Regions from separate parts of the Homo sapiens genome. Here region 1 is linked to region 2. Evidence: promoter capture Hi-C in 16 types of primary human blood cells and fetal thymus (Javierre and others, 2016). All regions are on one chromosome and are shown on one strand. The core of a region is centred on a gene start or on the middle of the fragment in contact, and the rest is flanking DNA. Distances in the headings are between cores, read along the strand shown. Region 1 overlaps UBR2 (ubiquitin protein ligase E3 component n-recognin 2). Region 2 holds the start of CUL9 (cullin 9).

What was found. The method cuts DNA at HindIII sites, captures the fragments that hold promoters and counts their contacts. A CHiCAGO score of 5 or more calls a contact.
Region 1: a fragment that was not itself captured here is called in contact with the fragment with the promoter of CUL9 in region 2 in 1 of 17 cell types (fetal thymus); the score reaches 5.5 in fetal thymus.

What each region holds. Positions count from the first base shown.
Region 1 is chr6:42,659,766-42,662,991 of GRCh38, reverse strand. It overlaps UBR2 (ubiquitin protein ligase E3 component n-recognin 2), which reads right to left. Exons shown (of 47, transcript NM_001363705.2): 30 at 3,137-3,226; 31 at 715-808. Among named protein-coding and RNA genes, the nearest start is that of PRPH2, 61 kb to the left of the region's middle. The HindIII fragment of the contact is 3,115 bases long and covers 1-2,914 here.
Region 2 is chr6:43,180,783-43,183,713 of GRCh38, reverse strand. CUL9 (cullin 9) reads right to left here and starts at 1,518. Exons shown (of 41, transcript NM_015089.4): 1 at 1,465-1,518. SRF (serum response factor) reads right to left here. Exons shown (of 7, transcript NM_003131.4): 7 at 2,208-2,931. RefSeq lists silencers at 1,318-1,367, 1,388-1,527 and an enhancer at 1,778-1,847. The HindIII fragment of the contact is 6,829 bases long and covers 1,240-2,931 here.

The DNA.
Region 1 (3,226 bases), core at 108-2,607, 520 kb after region 2:
GCCACTTCCCCAAGGCTGGTGGCTATTTGTTTTTTTTTTGTTGTTGTTGTTGTTTTTGAGATGGAGTCTTGCTCTGTCGCCCAGGCTGGAGTGCAGTTGCACAATCTTGGTTCACTGCAACCTCCACCTCCCACATTCAAGCAATTCTCCTGTCTCAGCCTCCCAAGTAGCTGGGACTACAATGTGGTGGCTAGTTGTTAGGGGTAGTTCATGATAACTGGGTGAGCATAGTTCTAGAATAATAGTATTATTGATTTGTTGGTTTTGTAGAAGCATAGGAAACACCAAGGTAGAACAAATTCAGGACATCTCATCACAGGGAGCCATTACAATTTTGGGAAGTAACAAAGCAAGTACTAACATCTATGGAATCAAAAGTTGTCCACCCTGGACCCAAAGAAAGACAACATTACCCTTCTAGAGTTTATCCTACTGTAAAAACCCTTTTCTTCATCCACAGACTGATACAGATCCACTTCCTTCTTTGGAAGATATAGAAGAGACTTGGATATAAAGCTAAATTAAAAAACATATCTGACATACACTTTACATCTATGACAAGGCAAATAACTTTTGTTATTTATTAGGCAATGATACGGATTTTTTCAACATTTTTAGTTCTTTTCCTTTTTTCTAGAATGAAATTTCCTCTATTTAAAAAATATTGAGCCCTTAGATAAACTTCTCTTGACAAATATTAAGAATATACATTACCTTTGCCAACAATGGGCATGCATAATGTGCCCACAGCTACTAGTGTGTGTTCCACAAGACAGATCAGGGTGCATGAATAATGGATCATATTTTTCTGCATTACAAAACAAAACAAAACAAAACAAAAGTGAAGCATTTAATTTTCCTATAACAAATGTGTAACTTTAAATTGTAAAATCCTTGATAAAGACTTGAAATTTGAAATGAAATGCTAGTTTATTCCTCTGAGATACCAATTTATGCAACACCTTGGATTATTTAGAAAGTAGGACTCTCTAATTTTCACCACCCACAGCAAATTAATTAAACATTCTCAAATTGTTAAACTGAAATTAGAACTATGAATTTAAATATATCCAATCTTTTGAACATTTCACACTTTCAGGGTGCTGAGATATTCCAATTCCTCCCATTGTACCCTGAGCTCCAGGTAAAAGAGCTACTCTCTTCATGGGGCTGCCTTATGTGCGTTCAGGGCAGCTGGGTTAAAATGATCGCTAATAAAAAATGTTTTGGCAGTAACGGGGCGCCCCCTAGAGGACAGACTGCCTAACAACACTCATACAGCGAATAATCACATCAGAGCCAAAGTGACAACAAAAAATCTAAGCACAGACCAGATCAGATGGGGGGAAAAAAGGTAATTCAGAGTCTTCTGTCCTGGTGCTAATTTTTATATTCAAAGGGGATGAAAAATCATGAAAAACAAGATGGATGTCTGGCTTCTTTTGGAATTTTTGAATTCTTTATATAAATTAGTATAATCTTCGAAATTTCCTAACACTCTAGAAAGAACTACTTTTAATTTGCTTTAATAGTTTTAATTTGCTTTAACACTAGAACAGTGCAAATGTCAAAGCATTAAGAAAATCCACTTATAGCCAGCTAATGCTTTTTCTTCAGAAGTAATAAGTTAAATAAAATTAGCAACTTTGTCTTTGGCCTGGAATGAAATTTATAAAGCACCTAGTTTAAATATCTTTTTTTTTTTTAAGACAGTCTCGCTTTGTCGCCCAGATTGGAGTGCAGTGGCGCGATCTCGACTCACTGCAAGCTCTGCTTCCTGGGTTCACGCCATTCTCCTGCCTCAGCCTCCCGAGTAGCAGGTAACTGCCACCACGCCTGGCTAATTTTTTTTTGTATTTTTTAGTAGAGATGGGGTTTCACTGTGTTAGCCAGGATGGTCTTGATCTCCTGACCTTGTGATCTGCCTGCCTTGGCCTCCCAGAGTGCTGGGATTACAGACATGAGCCACTGCGCCTGGCCTTTTTTTTTTTTTTTAAAAACAAACAAACAAACAAACAAAAAAACCACACAGGGTCTCGCTCCGTTGCCCAGGCTGGAGGGCAGTGGTGCAATCTCGGCTCACTGCAACCTCTGCCTCCCAGGTTCAAGCAATTCTCATGCCTCAGCCTCTTGAGTAGCTGGGACTACAGGCGCGTGCCACCAAATTTGGCTAGTTTTTTTTTTGTACTATTAGTAGAGATGGGGTTTCGCCATGTTGGCCAGGCTGGTCTTGAACTCCTGACCTCAGGTGATCCACCTGCCTCGGCCTCCCAAAGTGCTGGGATTACAGGCATGAGCCACCATACCCAGCCTAAATGACCATTTTTAAAGATGAAGCAGACCAACCTTTCATAAGTAGGATGCAAAGACTTTCTTTACAGAGAGAAGGCAACTCTAAAAGTGGGCTCTCAAACCTCCTTTCACGCTGCAGTGTGAAAGGCACTGGTTAAAGCAGTGCTCTGGGAATTCCCAAGACACAGTTCCTACTCTCAAGAAGTTTACTGGGTATCGCTGAAGCACACGCACACAGAGCACAACCTACAAGCAGAGAAATAAATGTGTCTGTGGTGGACAAAATCATGTGCGGACTGGATCTCCCTGCTTTACTCCCTCAGTTGCTGAAAGAGGGCCCTCAACTGTCCTGCACGGTAATCTGTATCCCAAGAATCTGCTTTCTGGGGAACCCGATCTGTGGTGGTATTACTATTCTAAAACAATTTGGCTCAAGGATTGCCTCTTACATAGGTAACTCTCCATCACTGTTCTCAGGAGATTCCACTCAGGCTCTATCAATAAGACAAAACAATTATTATTTCAGTGTGTCAACAAATGACCAGGACTTTGCAAGTGTACTGAAGGATGGAAAAGACTGTGAAATGCCAAAGTATGTAATGTTACATCACAAAGAAAAGCTTTTCTTTGAATCCCTGCTATTTATCAGCTATGTGATTCAGGTGCAACTTTCTGGAGTGGTTCCACATCTGCCAAGTGGGGAATTCCTGCCTAAGTTACCTGCCAAAGATACCATCCAAGTCCATGGAGTTATTTTTAGGTTTAAAAAATCTCAACGTATCACCAACCACATTAACTGGCAGTTGTTATTAAAAGGGAAGATGAGGATCTAGCTATGACTTACCTGGATCTTGAATAAATTTACTTCTGTTTTTTGATAATACAGTTGATCTCTGAACAAATGCTGCCAAGACCATTGCCCTGCTTTCCACTT
Region 2 (2,931 bases), core at 269-2,768:
GAAGGAAGAAAGGAAGGAAGGGGAGTTTACAAAAAGAGAATTAAAACAGTAATAGGCAAAGTAACAATAAACAGAGTGACAGTTAAGCAAGACAGTTTAGGCAGGATAGCAGGGTGGCTGAGGGTTACAGATTAGGACTTAGAAGAATGACATGGGTGGACAGGAAGGACAGCAGCATGTGAGGCAGTGGGATCAGAACATGTGAGGAAAAGTAGGATAGCGGAGGGGCAGGACAGGGAGCATAAATGACAGAGTAAAGCTGCAAGGTGGATGTAAAGGGTGGGCCATGGCAGATATAGAGAATGGAGATGACAAAAGGCTGGGATGTTGGGGCAAATGACTGGATAGGAAAAGTATATTCGAGTCTTGTGAAAGGGGGAGGGCCCTAGGGACCAGATAAAATTATGGGAAAGATGACCAGGTCCCACCCTGCCCTTATACTGCATGTATGGTAAGGATTTAAGTAAGTTAAGTAGATAAGATAGAGGTGGTAATCATGGGGTTAAAGGTAGGAAATGAGGTCAGGAGAGAAGCAATATTCAGAGACTTCAGTATCAGATAAATGTGACTCTGAATTCTGGCTTTCTGTCTCACTGTCTGCATAGTTTGGAACAAGTTACTTAACCTCTGAGCTTGTTTCCTCTTCTGCAAGATGGTAGTAATATTCATAGTTACTTCATGAATTTAGTAGGATCATGTATGTAAAGCACTTGGAACAGCATCTAGCACATAAAGAGTGTTCAGTAAACATAATCTGTTATTATTCTTAGATGGAGAAGGTAGGGGAGTCATCAAATAAATGCAAAGTTATTAAGACCGATTATAAATGGGAGTGGAATAATCAGGAAAGATATGCGTGATATGAAGCAGTGCAGGGGCAACAGGGAATAGTGAGAATAAGAATGGAAGAAGGTAAACCCAGATGAAGATATAGTGGTCAGGGCAGGGGTCATGTTGGGGTACAGGGACAGAAGATGAGAGTAGAGGTGAAGAGGAGGGAGAAAGATGGATGTGGACCTCAATGGAGGTAGGGGTCCACTTAGGATGGGGGGCAAGCCTGGATGGTAGCCAGCGATGTGCCAGCGGGCAACTGATTAGCAGCAGGGGGAAGTAAAAGAATCGGATAGGAGGAGGTAGGAGGTGTAACGTCGGCCTAGAAGAGCAACAATAAACTGAGGTGTGGGGGTGAGCTCTGGACGCATGGATGAGACCAGCAGATAGCAAGGTCAAGCCCAAGCTTGCAGAGCCGTGGGGAGGTGGAGGAGGCCAGCACCGCAGAGGGAACGGGTTTGGGGGGAGGGGGAAGGATGGTTGGGGGCGCGGTCCAAAAAAGCTGAAAAGATCCAGTGAATCTCAGAGAGCAAGACCTGGTTCCCTTCGTCAGCCCCATGGACAGTGGCTAAAGGACCGGGGAGGGGACAGGAGAAGGGGAGGGATTGGGTCGGCGCAGAACTCTCCTCTCACCTCCCACCGCCCGGCTCAGCCCTCGCTGGGACCCAGCGGCCGGTCCCGCCGTCCTGGCCCCGCCTCCTCAGAGCTCCCTTCCGGGTCACACGGCGAGTGCACGCACGGCCGGGCACCTACGGGTCCCACCGCGGCCCACGCCGAGCGTGGCGGAACAGCGCGCGAGTGGAGCATGCGTGCTACCGCGGGCGGCTGCACTGGAAGAGGGGCGTGGGGGCGCGCTACCGGAGGAGCCTGGGATCGAGGTCACGTTGCTCCTCTCTCAGCAGCAGGAAGAAGCCGTTTCCATCCAGTCAACTGTGAAGCCCCCTCCTCTTCACTGGGTCGGCCCTCCTAATCCTCCCTCTCCCATCACAGCGATCATGCTGACGAAACATGGTAACCCACATTCCCACCTTAAGGCTGCCCTTTTTGACTTTTCAGTAGGTCAGGTGCCCATGAGTTTCCCAAACCCTTCAGCAATGCTTTGGATTAGTTGTGTCACTTTTCCTGTTAATTAAAATTTGCTCCTCTGCGTTGGCCTTAACACCTAGCGAAGCCACGCACAGGGAGAAGGTCCTCGGCCCCGCAAAACTTTCCTTAAATTAAATCGTATAGAATTAAACAGCCCAAAGCACACCTTAGCATTACCGTTCTCATCAAGCAGCCCGGATCGCTACTCAGAGCAGCAATTTTAGGAGTTTGCCTCGCGTTCATACCCCCATCCCTCCCTAAGTAGAAAAACAGAACCAAAGACCCCACAGTCTGTGCACAAAAATGATACATTTATTGAAAGAGTATTTTTTTTTAATACAAAAGAAAGCTCTGTACATAGGACTGTGACCATGTCCACTATTCCTGGGTCAGCATCCCAGGGGAAGTAGAAACCACTGACATACACACTCACATTCAAGCACACACACTCACTCAGGCGCACACACCCACACACACATACCCCAGAGCCACCGAGGAAGGGAAACACCAAGGGTCGCTGCACATAAAAATATCACCTCAACTCATCCCTGACACACGCATGTCCTCCCAAGGCCACGCTCACACAACACACATTATAAGCACTTTGCCTGATTCACTCACTGGGTCTGTCTTTTGTGGGAAGGAGAGGAAGAATTCATCAAAGGTCTCCTCCCCATGGGTGGGGGAGTGGGGAGTGAGTGAGTGATGGTGGAGTGAAACAAGAGCAGAGAAAAGGGGCTGGGCAGTTACAGACCTGAGTCCCAAGCTCCCCTGCTCTCTGGCCCCTGATTTGCCATGCCCCAGCCTTGAAAGCCACCCATAAGCCCCAGCTATCTCCAGGAGAAAGCCCAGAAAGGTGACTTCCATCTTGGCACCCCAAACTGGGGCAAGACAGCAATGAGGGTTAGAGGTTAGGGGGTTCTCAAACATGTCGGCAAATCATCCCCTTGATAACTAGGCTGTGCATAAAATCTTCCCCCATCCCTTCACCTAATCACAGAAGCCAGCTTGTTC